Linked DNA regions of Homo sapiens: region 2 is linked to region 1. Evidence: promoter capture Hi-C in human tissues and cell types (Jung and others, 2019). All regions are on one chromosome and are shown on one strand. Each heading gives the region's core, a stretch centred on a gene start or on the middle of the fragment in contact. The rest is flanking DNA. Distances are from core to core; before and after follow the strand shown.

Evidence for each region. Contacts are between HindIII fragments. The study calls those that stand out against the background at their distance.
Region 2: a contact is called between a fragment that was not itself captured here and the fragment with the promoter of RSRC2 in region 1, in 1 of the 25 tissues and cell types used here (dorsolateral prefrontal cortex).

What each region holds. Positions count from the first base shown.
Region 1 is chr12:122,525,497-122,531,522 of GRCh38, forward strand. It overlaps RSRC2 (arginine and serine rich coiled-coil 2), which reads right to left and starts at 1,440. Exons shown (of 10, transcript NM_023012.6): 1 at 1,352-1,440. The coding sequence starts at 1,357. KNTC1 (kinetochore associated 1) reads left to right here and starts at 1,753. Exons shown (of 64, transcript NM_014708.6): 1 at 1,753-1,855; 2 at 4,495-4,696. The coding sequence starts at 4,568. RefSeq lists enhancers at 1,120-1,579, 3,687-3,786. The HindIII fragment of the contact is 3,842 bases long and covers 371-4,212 here.
Region 2 is chr12:123,618,081-123,624,051 of GRCh38, forward strand. EIF2B1 (eukaryotic translation initiation factor 2B subunit alpha) reads right to left here. Exons shown (of 9, transcript NM_001414.4): 8 at 4,556-4,681; 9 at 2,326-3,840. The coding sequence ends at 3,676. DDX55 (DEAD-box helicase 55) reads left to right here. Exons shown (of 14, transcript NM_020936.3): 12 at 589-757; 13 at 1,352-1,644; 14 at 1,884-2,863. The coding sequence ends at 2,060. Among named protein-coding and RNA genes, the nearest start is that of SNORA9B, 4.4 kb to the left of the region's middle. RefSeq lists an enhancer at 3,297-4,496. The HindIII fragment of the contact is 7,939 bases long and covers 705-5,971 here.

The DNA of each region.
Region 1 (6,026 bases), core at 190-2,689:
AATAATAGAGGGGTATGGGGGAAAAAGAAAATCATCTGCCTAATCCCAGGCATTCCAATCGTTAGGAAGAGCAAACTTTAAAACTATCACTATGTTTAAGAGTCATAATTATTATCGAAAATGATGTAATTTTTTAGTCAGTAAAAAGGAATGCAAAATCTTTACATTTTCCTTTTAACGGAATAAAAATGAGGTAAGCACAAAATAATGTGGATCCGTCAGAATTGGGTATCTTATACACACGCAGGCTTATTGTTCAGAATAGATAATTTACGAACTGTAGCTCCTCTGGGGTCAACGAAGAGTTTTTTTTTTTTTTTTTTTTTTTTTTTTTTTTTTTTTTGAGACGGAGTCTCGCTCTGTCACCCAGGCTGGAGTGCAGTGGCGGGATCTCGGTTCACTGCAAGCTCCGCCTCCCGGGTTCACGCCATTCTCCTGCCTCAGCCTCCCAAGTAGCTGGGACTACAGGCGTCCGCCACTACGCCCGGCTAATTTTTTTGTATTTTTAGTAGAGACAGGGTTTCACCGTTTTAGCCGGGATGGTCTCGATCTCCTGACCTCGTGATCCGCCCGCCTCGGCCTCCCAAAGTGCTGGGATTACAGGCGTGAGCCACCGCGCCCGGCCAACGAAGGGTTTAAATTTAAAGGAACAAGGTCAGTGACAAGACTTAACTGTAACGCTTCTCGGACTTCAAATTGATTACATCACGGGCCACTTCGGAAACCGCGCATCAGTCAGAATTGGTAGTTCCACAACCTTTTAAGTTGAATTTTCACTCCCTTTCAGCAATACCTTCCTAGCTCGTTAATACACAATAATAAGGTTTACACGGACGAACACTAATTGAAATTATGCAACTAGAAGCATCTCATTGAGCGTACAAAAAAAAAAATAGCTACAAGTCGCTCTCTTCTCCCACACTACCCTTTACAGACACTGCCTTTTTGACCCAATACTTTTCAGAGACCACTCCTGATCGTCTTTCTCTTCCCCAGCCCCTTTCTCCACCGCAAATTCTCAGGCCCTAAAAAAAACTTAGAATAAATCACTAGCCAGGGTGAATAAGCGAAAATGGAGGAAGTTCAGTGAGGCGAAAGGAACGTAGGGTTGGGGAAGAGAGGAGGAAAGTTCTGGAAAAAAAAAGGCACTCCCTGCGGCTCCCCACCCCCACCAACACCGCCTTACTTCCCCCTCCCTACAGCAGGCAGCCATGATGGCGGGCGCAGAAGAAGGCCGCGGCGCCATTTTGTCTACACACATACACACGAACAAGGTTCTGGGAGCCGTTCACCCACTGTTGGAACGTAGCAGAAAAATATCCCTGGCTTTAAACTCAGATTCGGTACCTACCGCCATAGTTCAGAGTCCCGGCCGCTAGAGCGGCGCCTCCACTTGTCGCTTTCAACAGTACCGGCCGCTCCGAAGCTTCGCCTCAGACTAAATCGCTCGCGCGAGAGACCCGGATGGCACAAAGGCGAGGAGGCCCGGCGCGTCGCACAGCTTGCTGGGAGAAAAAGGGGCGGTAACAAAAGTTTCTATAACAACGCAATTCGAGGCGGTGATTGGGTGTTCTTTCATAGGGGAGTGTAAAGACCGTGAAGAGGGCGGGGCCAAGAATACACCCCCGGAATGCGCAGTCGGGAGAACGGAATGGGCGGAACTCAGGGTGGGGCAACTTCCTATTTCGAGTCTAAAGTAATCTTGGTCTCTTCCGGCCGCCGTAAAGGGGTTGGGTTTAGTGTTCTCCCGCCAATTTAAGCCTGTGGCATGGAACCTAAAGACTAGAGGCGGTTGTGTGAGTCAGGAAGAGGGGCCAGATATCTGAGTGTTCCTCTTTAGTTTCTTCAATTGCAGGTGAGGACGGGGAGCTGCGCTGTGTAGGGAACTGGGGGTGGGTTCAGGACGAAGTAGCTGCAGCCTCTGCTCAGTTCCTGTTGTTTTCCCCTTGACGCTGGCAGGAGAGAGGTTGGAGTCGGTTTTTGCTGGCGGCGATGTCCAGCGGAGAGCGTTTAAGTATGGAGGCCTAACTGACAAGTGTTTCATCTTGCTCATTCTCTCGTATTCGCGAATCTGTTCTGCATTCCGCCGCCAGAGTGATCTCAAAATTATAAAATCAGACCACTCGTTTGCTGAGTTCCCCTTCTACCCCTTGTACTGAGAATAAAATTCAATCTTGAGGTCGAGGTTTTATTGGACTCCACTGCTCTCTCCCTCACTGTCTTCTGCTTTTGCTTTGACCCGGCAGCAGCATCAAACGCTTCCTACCCAGCCTCCGAGTCTTTGCACTCTGTTCCCTCTGCCTACGTCGCGTTCCGCCTAAGTTTTGCGTACTTCTTGTTATTCAGGTCTCAGCTCAGATGTCACCTCCTTCCCTTCCCAAACAAATCCTTCTTCAGCGACGCCTCACCTTATCCATTTAATCACTGTTTCCTTCAAATCATTTAGCACTTTTTGTAATTATTTGTGCAGTTGCTTTTTTGTGGAGGTAGCATAACAAGATACGTATTAACAATTTTATTTTTGTCCGTTTTTCCCGCAAAAACATAAACTTCATAATGGCAAAGACATTTTGTGTTCTGTTCAAGCTATATTCCCAGTTCCTAGAAAGGTGTCTGGCACATAGTAAATAGGTATTCAATAAACATTTGTTGAATAAGTAAATATGGCAGTTACGGGCGGTTTCTCTATTTCACAGATGTGGGAAATTGAGACCCATAAAGGTATTCATTCCAACCTGTCCCTCCTTCTTCATCTCCTCACTCCCACCCAAACACCAGCCACTGAAACTTCTCTATTCTCCAAACATGTTTTGTTTCTGTTCCCTTGCTTATGCTCTTAGGAAGAACTCTTTAAACATTTATAAAACTATGATCTTCAATTCTCAGCCCAATAACAAATTAGCTAACACCTAAAATTGAATGTTTGCCATCAACCAAGCATTGTTCTGTGAACATTTAAAACTCAAAACATTTGGAGGCTGAAGCAGAAGGATTGCTTGAGCCCAGGAGATCAAGGCCAGCCAGGGCAAAATAGTGAGACCCTCGTCTCTCAAAAAACCAGAAGTGAAAAATAGAAAACTCCTTCAGGTGGGTACAACTAAATTAGTCCCTTGGTATTGGTATCCATGGGAGATTGGTTCCAGGACCTCCCACAGATACCAAAACCCTAGGATGCTTAAGTCCCTGTCATTAAATGGCATAGTATTTGCATGTAGCCTAGGAACATCTGCCTGTATACTTTAAATCATCTCTTGATTTCTTATCTTGCGTAACAGTGTAAATGTGCTATGCCTGTAGGTGCAATCTAGGGATGTGGAACACATGGATATTGACGGCAAACTGTATATATATATTTTTTTTCCAAGACGGAGTTTCACTCTTGTTGCCCAAGCTGGAGTGCAAGTGGCACGATCTCGACTTACTGCAACCTCCGCCTCCCGGGTTCAAGCAATTCTACAGCCTCAGCCTCCTGAGTAGCTGGGATTACAGGCGCACACCACCACGCCCGGCTAATTTTTTGTGTTTTTAGTAGAGAGGGGGTTTCGTCATGTTGGCCAGGCTGGTCTCAAACTCCTGACCTCAGATAATCCACCTGCCTAAGCCTCCCAAAGTTCTGGGATTACAGGTGTGAGCCACCGCGCCGGCCTGGTCTGTATATTCCTATTTTATAAATTAGAGAATTGAGGAACAGAAAGATTAAGTGATCACCCAAGGACAGCTGCCTAGTCATTGTGAAAGAGCACCAAGTCAGAAATTGTTTCTACCTTGTGCTATACCTTTTATAGATATTGAAACATACTTCTAGTAGCACTTATGAAACCAATTGTAATTATTTGATTATCATTCCCTACCAGTCTTGATCCAAGGATTGTTTTTATCCTTAGTGTTCTTTTCCCACCCAGACTCCAGGTAATATGGTTTATGTAAACCTTTGCTTTTTGAGATGGGTAAACCTCATAAGGTTTCAAGCTTAGTCTTTGATCCAGAAACCTAATTCATTTTTTTCTCCTCCCCTTATCATTTTTATTTGTTGTATAATAATACTATGATAGCATCAATGGACTTTTTCTGAACTTCATCTGGAATCTTATCATCCTATGATATCCCTGACAATCTGGCATCTAAACCTACACTGTTTGCTGCTATTAAAGGTTTATTTCTAATGAAAGGTTTATTTCTAATGAAAACTTGGTATAATTAAAGGTTTATTTCTAATGAAAACTTGGTATAATTCCAAACTAGACACACAAAGTAATGGAAGCTCTAAGATACATTGGTAAGATCAGAATTGTTGGTTTGTGTGCATAAACCAATATGTTGTTCTCTGGTAACCATCATAGCTCTAGTTCCATTTATGTTATTGGCCCGAAGTGTTTAGTGGCCACAGCAATAACAAGAAGACTAAGATGTCTGTATATGTTAATGTTAGACTTTTGTTTTTGTTTTGTGAGTAAGCTTTATCATTTCCCAAGGAACCAGGTTCTATGCAACAAGATAATATGGTGTCTAATTTTATGTTGTTCAGGAAAGACAGTGGTTCCTGACTCAGGAAGACAGTCTCAGAAACATGTGGAATGATATTGAGCTGCTAACAAATGATGATACCGGAAGTGGGTACCTGAGTGTCGGTTCAAGAAAAGAACATGGAACTGCTTTATATCAAGTAGATTTGCTAGTGAAGATCTCTTCTGAAAAGGTAGTGATTATTACACTGACTGTTTCATTCACAGAATTTTTACTGAGTGCTTAGTAGGGCTAGTGGCCCACAGTAAATATTTTGTGAATGAACATAGCACTTCCTCAGGGAATCAAGATTCAATCTCAGATTGCTAGAAATTCACGTCTGAATACCCTCTGCATCATGTCAGGATCAGTATTTTCACAACTGAAGGATTCTTAGTTCCTCTTGATATTTCATGCATACAAAAATATGTGTAAGTTGATACAAAGGATATCTTTTTTTTTTTTTTTTGAGACAGATTCTTACTCTGTCACCCAGGCTGGAGTGCAGTGGTGTGATCACGGCTCACTGCAATCTCTGACTCCCAGATTCAAGTGATTCTCGTGCCTCAGCCTCCCAAGTAGCTGAGATTACAGTTGTGTGCCACCATGCTCAGCTAATTTTTTGTATTTTTGTAAAGATGGGGTTTCTCCATGTTGGCCAGGCTGGTCTTGAACTCCTGGCCTCAAGAAATCCACCCACCTCAGCCTCCCAAAGTGCTGGGATTACAGGTGTGAGCCATCACTCCCGGCATACAAAGAATATCTACGACTGACTTAGGAAATAAAATGTTACAAATAGAGTTGAAGGCTCTGAGGGTCCATCCCTGAATCTGTGTTCCTCCTGTTTCCTACCAGAGTCAAGCACCCTGCTGAGTATGAGGTTTATCCGTGCATTTCTTTCTACATTTTAACTTTCTTCTGTCAGTAATTGCACCATTCTTGCTTCATGCCTGAAACCTTATTCTTTGCATTCTATAGAAGGTACTATTAGCTGGGTGTGGTGGCATGCACATGTAGTCCCAGCTACTTGGGAGGCTGGTATTTAATTCTTTTTTTTTTTTAATAAAAGAAATTTTTTTTCACTCAAATGGAATCTGACAGATAAGGCAGGGCATCCACTGTGGACGTTATTCCTAAAGGGAATTAAATGTATGCTTTTGACTTTTTTTTTTAAACTGGCTGATGGGATTTTAAAAAGAAATCATTCTTTATGCAGCTTTAAGCTGGTGTCTGTGGAACTGTGCTGCTTTTTCTTGCTGTGGTGCTATCTCGGCTCGGCTCACTGCAACCTCTGCCTCCTGGGTTCAAAAAATTCTCCTGTCTCAATTTCCCAAGTAGCTGGGATTACAGGTGTGTGCCACCATGCTACTAAAAATTTTCGTATTTTTAGTAGAGATGGGGTTGCCCAGGCTGGTCTTGAACTCCTGGCCTCAAGTGATCCGCCTGCCTTGGCCTCCCAAAGTGCTGGGATTAAAGGCATGAGTCACTGTGCCTGATTTGTACCGCTTTAAATGTACCATGAA
Region 2 (5,971 bases), core at 3,424-5,923, 1.1 Mb after region 1:
ATCTCGGTTCACCGCAACCTCCACCTCCCGGGTTCAATGGATTCTCCTGCCTCAGCCTCCCAAGTAGCTGGGATTACAGGCATGCGCCACCCCAGCTAATTTTGTATTTTTAGTAGAGATGGGGTTTCTCCATGTTGGTCAGGCTGGTCTTGAACTCCCGACCTCAGGTGATCCGCCCACCTCGGCCTCCCAAAGTGCTGGGATGACAGGCGTGAGCCACCGTGCCCGGCCACCCTGGTGGGCTTTAAGGCTGTGGAGGCACCTCGGTCATGGAGTGACCAAGTCTCCTGTGTGGTAGCATGCCCTGCTGGGACCCAGGCAAGGGTTACTTCTTGTGAATAGAGACCCAGTGTTGCCATACTTTGCTACCAGATTAGGATTGTCATGTGAAATCTGATTTTTAAATTTTCTTTTAAAAATTTAACATACTTTACAGAGCATGTGAAATATTTGGGTTGGAGTTGGGCTTCAGACCTCAACAGTTGAAAAGGAATTGTTTCGCTTTTGTTTTTCTTGGTTGTGATGGGGAGCCCTGGGGATATGATGCCAGCCAGGGAAGGTGAGAATGTGGTATGTGTGTGTGTGTAGTGCCCCCTGCAGGAGATGAAGCCCCAGAGAAACACAGCGGACCTTCTGCCAAAACTCAAGTCCATGGCCCTGGCTGACAGAGCTGTGTTTGAAAAGGGCATGAAAGCTTTTGTGTCATATGTCCAAGCTTATGCAAAGCATGAATGCAACCTGATTTTCAGATTAAAGGGTAAGTTGGACTTCTTCATGTGATAATGTCTCCATCTTAACTATGTGGTGGTCTTACAAGTATGAGATTGCTTTGTCTCATAAAAGGAAGTGTTCCCAGGTTTTGAGTAGACACAGAATAAACTGGCCACTGGCTGCTGAGTATTCCTTTTAACTTTGTAAAAATGTAATTTTTTTAATTTTTGAGACAGAGTCGCGCTTTGTCACCCAGCCTGGAGCGCAGTGGCGCGATCTCGGCTCACTGTAAGCTCTGCCTCCCAGGTTCACGCCATTCTCCTGTCTCAGCCTCCCGAGTAGCTGGGACTACAGGCGCCCGCCACCACGCCCAGCTAATTTTTTGTATTTTTTAGTAGAGACGGGGTTTCACCGTGTTAGCCAGGATGGTCTCGATCTCCTGACCTCGTGATCCGCCCACCTCGGCCTCGCAAAGTGCTGGGATTACAGGCGTGAGCCACTGCACCCGGCCTCAATTATTTTCATTCTAACTAAAATGAATGCATTAAACCCTTTGGTTAGAAAAAAATTATATTGTAAGCCATTACTGATTGTTCTAATCCTGTTGAGTGCGCTAACTCTGATCTTCTGATTGAATCAGATCTTGATTTTGCCAGCCTTGCTCGAGGTTTTGCCCTGCTGAGGATGCCCAAGATGCCAGAATTGAGAGGAAAGCAGTTTCCAGATTTTGTGCCCGTGGACGTTAATACCGACACGATTCCATTTAAAGATAAAATCAGAGAAAAGCAGAGGCAGAAACTCCTGGAGCAACAAAGAAGAGAGAAAACAGAAAATGAAGGGAGAAGAAAATTCATAAAAAATAAAGCTTGGTCAAAGCAGAAGGCCAAAAAAGAAAAGAAGAAAAAAATGAATGAGAAAAGGAAAAGGGAAGAGGTAAAGTTTACTTTTACTTACATTAACTTAGAATCTTGAACAAATTTATTGTAGTAGTTCTTTAAATAGGAATTGTGTGGGGCTGTCAGATTTCTGTTACGTTGGCGACCAGGGTGGGGAATTTGCTCTATTTGCAGAAGCCAATCTGAGAGCTTATAGTTCTTGAGTTAAAACTGCTGGTTTCACTACAACACTATTGCTGAAAAATTTAGTAGTTTATTGGTTTCTTCTGCACTTAGGGTTCTGATATTGAAGATGAGGACATGGAAGAACTTCTTAATGACACAAGACTCTTGAAAAAACTTAAGAAAGGCAAAATAACTGAAGAAGAATTTGAGAAGGGCTTGTTGACAACTGGCAAAAGAACAATCAAGACAGTGGATTTAGGGATCTCAGATTTGGAAGATGACTGCTGATTCCAGTGCCACAGATGAACCCACAAGGACATAGCTGTTCCCTAACTTGGTGGATGGCTCCAGTTTGCTTTTAACGAAAATCACAACTTCAGGAGACATCTGAAAAGAATGATGTCTCTGAAAGCTGTCCTTTCAGATGAGGGAGAAATGAAGGATTTCACACTTCAGAATATTTTACTAAAAACATTCCAGTCTTGGCCGGGTGCGGTGGCTCCTGCCTATAATCCCAGCACTTTGGGAGGCTGAGGCAGGAGGATCACTTGAGCCCAGGAGTTCAAGACCAGCCTGGGAACACAGCGAGACCCTCTCATTAAAAACAACAAAACAAAACAATTCCAGTCTTGGAGTAGTCTAACAGAAGAAAATGTAAAATTATTTGAGTGTAAATAATAGATGTCAGTATTTATCATGATGGGTCACATATAGACATATGTACATATTATATATATATATATATATATATATATATATATATATATATATATATAAGCTCTTTTTTCTGAGGCTATTTTATAGTTATTTTTAAACATAAAGATACAGAAGTCTTCTTGACTTCTGATTTTCAAAACCATTCCTCAGTATCTTCAGGCATTTGACCTCCTGAATGTGCTTGGCCCTGGGCTTCAGTTATCCTTTGATGTCCTGCAGGGGTGGCTAATGTGCTGGGGTTTTTCTGTGTTAATAGTCACAGTATTGTTTTATTGGTGAATAGCTGAAAAACAGAGGGATTAAGTCATATTCCGGGAAAGAGAATTATAGTTTTTATGCCTCCTGTTGAATAAATGGTGTCCTGATTGCCTGGGTCTTAAGTGTGTAAATGTAGCTGGACAGTGTTTTCCCCTAGATGGCCTGGTCAGCTTGCAGTATTGATGCAACACCACATCAGCGTCTTTCATAGAGTTTATTTGAAAAGATGCTGAATTTATTCCCAAGTATAATTTTAAAAAGCTGTTTAGGACCCAAACATATTTAAACATCTCTTACACATACAGAATTTCAGTTTACAAATATTCCAGAAGGCATTTTCTTAAGCAGTGAACCATGCAGAATACTGTTGCTAAACATCGTTTCTGCCTTCCTCGTGTTCTCTTGGTAGTTTTTACTGTTTGGCTTGATCCTGCTGAGGAATGTGCTTACCACTGGAAGCCAGATGCAGATTCAGCAAGTGTTTCTTGCCTCTTACAAGGCACCGCGTGTAACGTCCTGACCAGCTGTTGGTCATTTGTGGCAGAGGGGTGTGGCTGCTTTTCGCCTGCATCTCGCGTGCTTTAGGCAGATCAGTCTGGAGTGCAGGGGAGGATGAAGACAGGTGGACTTGGGCTCATCTTTCATCAGTTAAGTAGCCAATTATCTAACTTGTATTTCTGGAAACTGAAAAGGAAAGTTTCTAGAAACCGTAAGAACAATTTAAGTTGGGATTTAGAATAGCTGACACATTTTTAGATGGGACTGAAATGAGTAAGAAAGGTTCTCCAAGATGTATGATTTTAAGTCCTTACTCCATAAATCTTCATTAAACACATCTCAGTTTTGGCCTGACTCACTGGGGTGTCAAGCAGCTACTCACCCTGCCTCAACTACGTAAGCTGCACCTTGGCAGGAAAGGGCTCACAGGTTACAGATAGAGCTTGATGAGCTCATCGCTGACTGCTGAGGGTGTCAGCACGCCCAGGTCTGTAAACAGCAGAGTGATTAAGGAAGGGGCAGTGTAGTCGACCCACGGATGCTCCTCTTTGAGGTCTTGTCCAGTCTGCGCGACCTTGAGAGTGTCTGCCTTATACTGAGGAGAGAAGTACACATTAGTCGGCACTGAATATTTAGTGCTCTGACCTGGTAGGGCCTTGGTGTGAGTGATCAGTGTGCTACTTCCTGAGACTGCTCTCTGAAAATGGGAGAAACTAAGCTATGCAGGACACTAGAGACGAGGGCAGAGTTGTGGCCATGAGCCAGATCATGGCAGTGTGCTGGCTGAGAGCTGTAGTGTAACAAACTTAAATCCCATGTCCCCTCATTCTCATGCCGGATTAACTTCTCCAGACCTCTCAAGGGAAGATCGAGAGTCACAATAGAGAGCTTGCAGCGTGCCAGGGACTGTGCTAAGATTATCTTAGAATCCTCATGACCCTGTCAGATACTGCTATGCCATTTTACAGACAAGAAAACCGGTTCAGAGGTTGAAATGAAAGGACTTGCCTCAACTCGCACAGTTTGTAAGTTGTGGTGATGGGAGCTGAGCTCAGTTAAGCCCAAAGCTGGGACTTACCCACCAGCTTCGGGCTTCCTCTCCACCCATCTATGGTGCTACTTAAAGAGACTGAAAGACTGAAGTTCTAGGGACAAATGTGTGAGTCCAATCACCAATTTATCTTTGTATTCCAAGTGTTGGGGAAAGTAGCAATAGGAAGTGAAAAAATTACTGGAACATTCTTAGGACTACAATTTCCAAAGGTTTCTGTTTAGACTTTAGTACCCCTTCAAATATGTAAAACTCTTGCCTTAAACTTATCTGGGACGTCTTGCTGGTTTAGTGGAAAGAGCCGGACAAACTTGAAACTTTCTGCAACCACATAGAAAGGTTTGTTCTGTGCTTTGGCACACACAGCCATCTGGTTGGTTCCAATCTGGGAAGGCAGAAAATGGAATGGATGAGCTCTAGAGTGCATCTGAAGTAGAAGCCACAGAAAAGCGGGCCGGGCACAGTGGTGCATGCCTGTATTCCAGCATTTTGGGAGGCCGAGGTGGGTGGATCACCTGAACCCATGAGTTTGGGACCAGCCTAGGCAACACGGTGAGACCTCGTCTCAATTACAATAAAGGAACAATTAAAAAACAGCAATAGAAAGTTATGTATATAATATAGATATACATATATCTAATACATATATTAGATATATCTAATTCTGACTTTGGAATCAAAAAAATAAATGTTTCTCAAAGGATATAGAAACAGCCACTAGAGGCTGGATGTGGTGGCTCACGCCTGTAATCCCAGCACTTTGGGAGGCCGAGGTGGGTGGATCACCTGAGGTCAGGAGTTTGAGACCAGCTGGCCAATATAGGGAAACCCCATCTCTACTAAAAATACAAAAAATTAGCTGGGCATGGTGGGATGGGGGGTGCCTGTAATCCCAGCTACTAGGGAGGCTGAAGCAGGAGACTCGCTTGAACCCGGGCACTGGAGGTTGCAGTGAGCCAAGACTGTGCCATTGCACTCCAGCCTGGACAGCAAGAGTGAAACTCCATCTCAAAAAATAAAAAAATTTAAAAAAACAAGTGTTGGCAAGGATGTAGAGAAATTGGAACCTTTGTGCTTTGCTAGTGGGAATGTAAAGTAGTGCAGCTGCTGTGGAAAATCATTAGTTTCTGAAAGTTAAATATATAGTTACCATGTGACTCAACACTCTGCCTGCAGACCTCCGCCTCCCAGGTTCAAGCGATTCTCCTGCGTCAGCCTGCCAAGTAGCTGGGATTACAGGCACCCGCCACCATGCCCAGCTAATTTTTTGTATTTTTAGTAGATATGGGGTTTCACCATGTTGGCCAGGCTGGTCTCGAACTCCTGACCTCAGATGATCTACCTGCCTCAGCCTCCCAAAGTGCTGGGATTATAGGCGTGAGCTACTACGCCCGGCCTTATGTTACATATATTTTAACTAAAAAAAGCTTTCATGAAGCTTTTCTAAATTAAATAATGGAGAGAGAGATTGTAATAAATTGAGGTCAAATGTGCTCAATTAAAATGAAAACAAATGACAGGCCGGCCACAGTGGCTCATGCCTGTAATCCTAGCACTTTGGGAAGTGGAAAGATTGCTTCAGGCTAGGAGTTCAAGACTGCAGTAAGCTATGATCACTGTACTACACTACAGCCTGGGCAACAGAGTGAATGTGTCTCTATTTTAAAATATATAT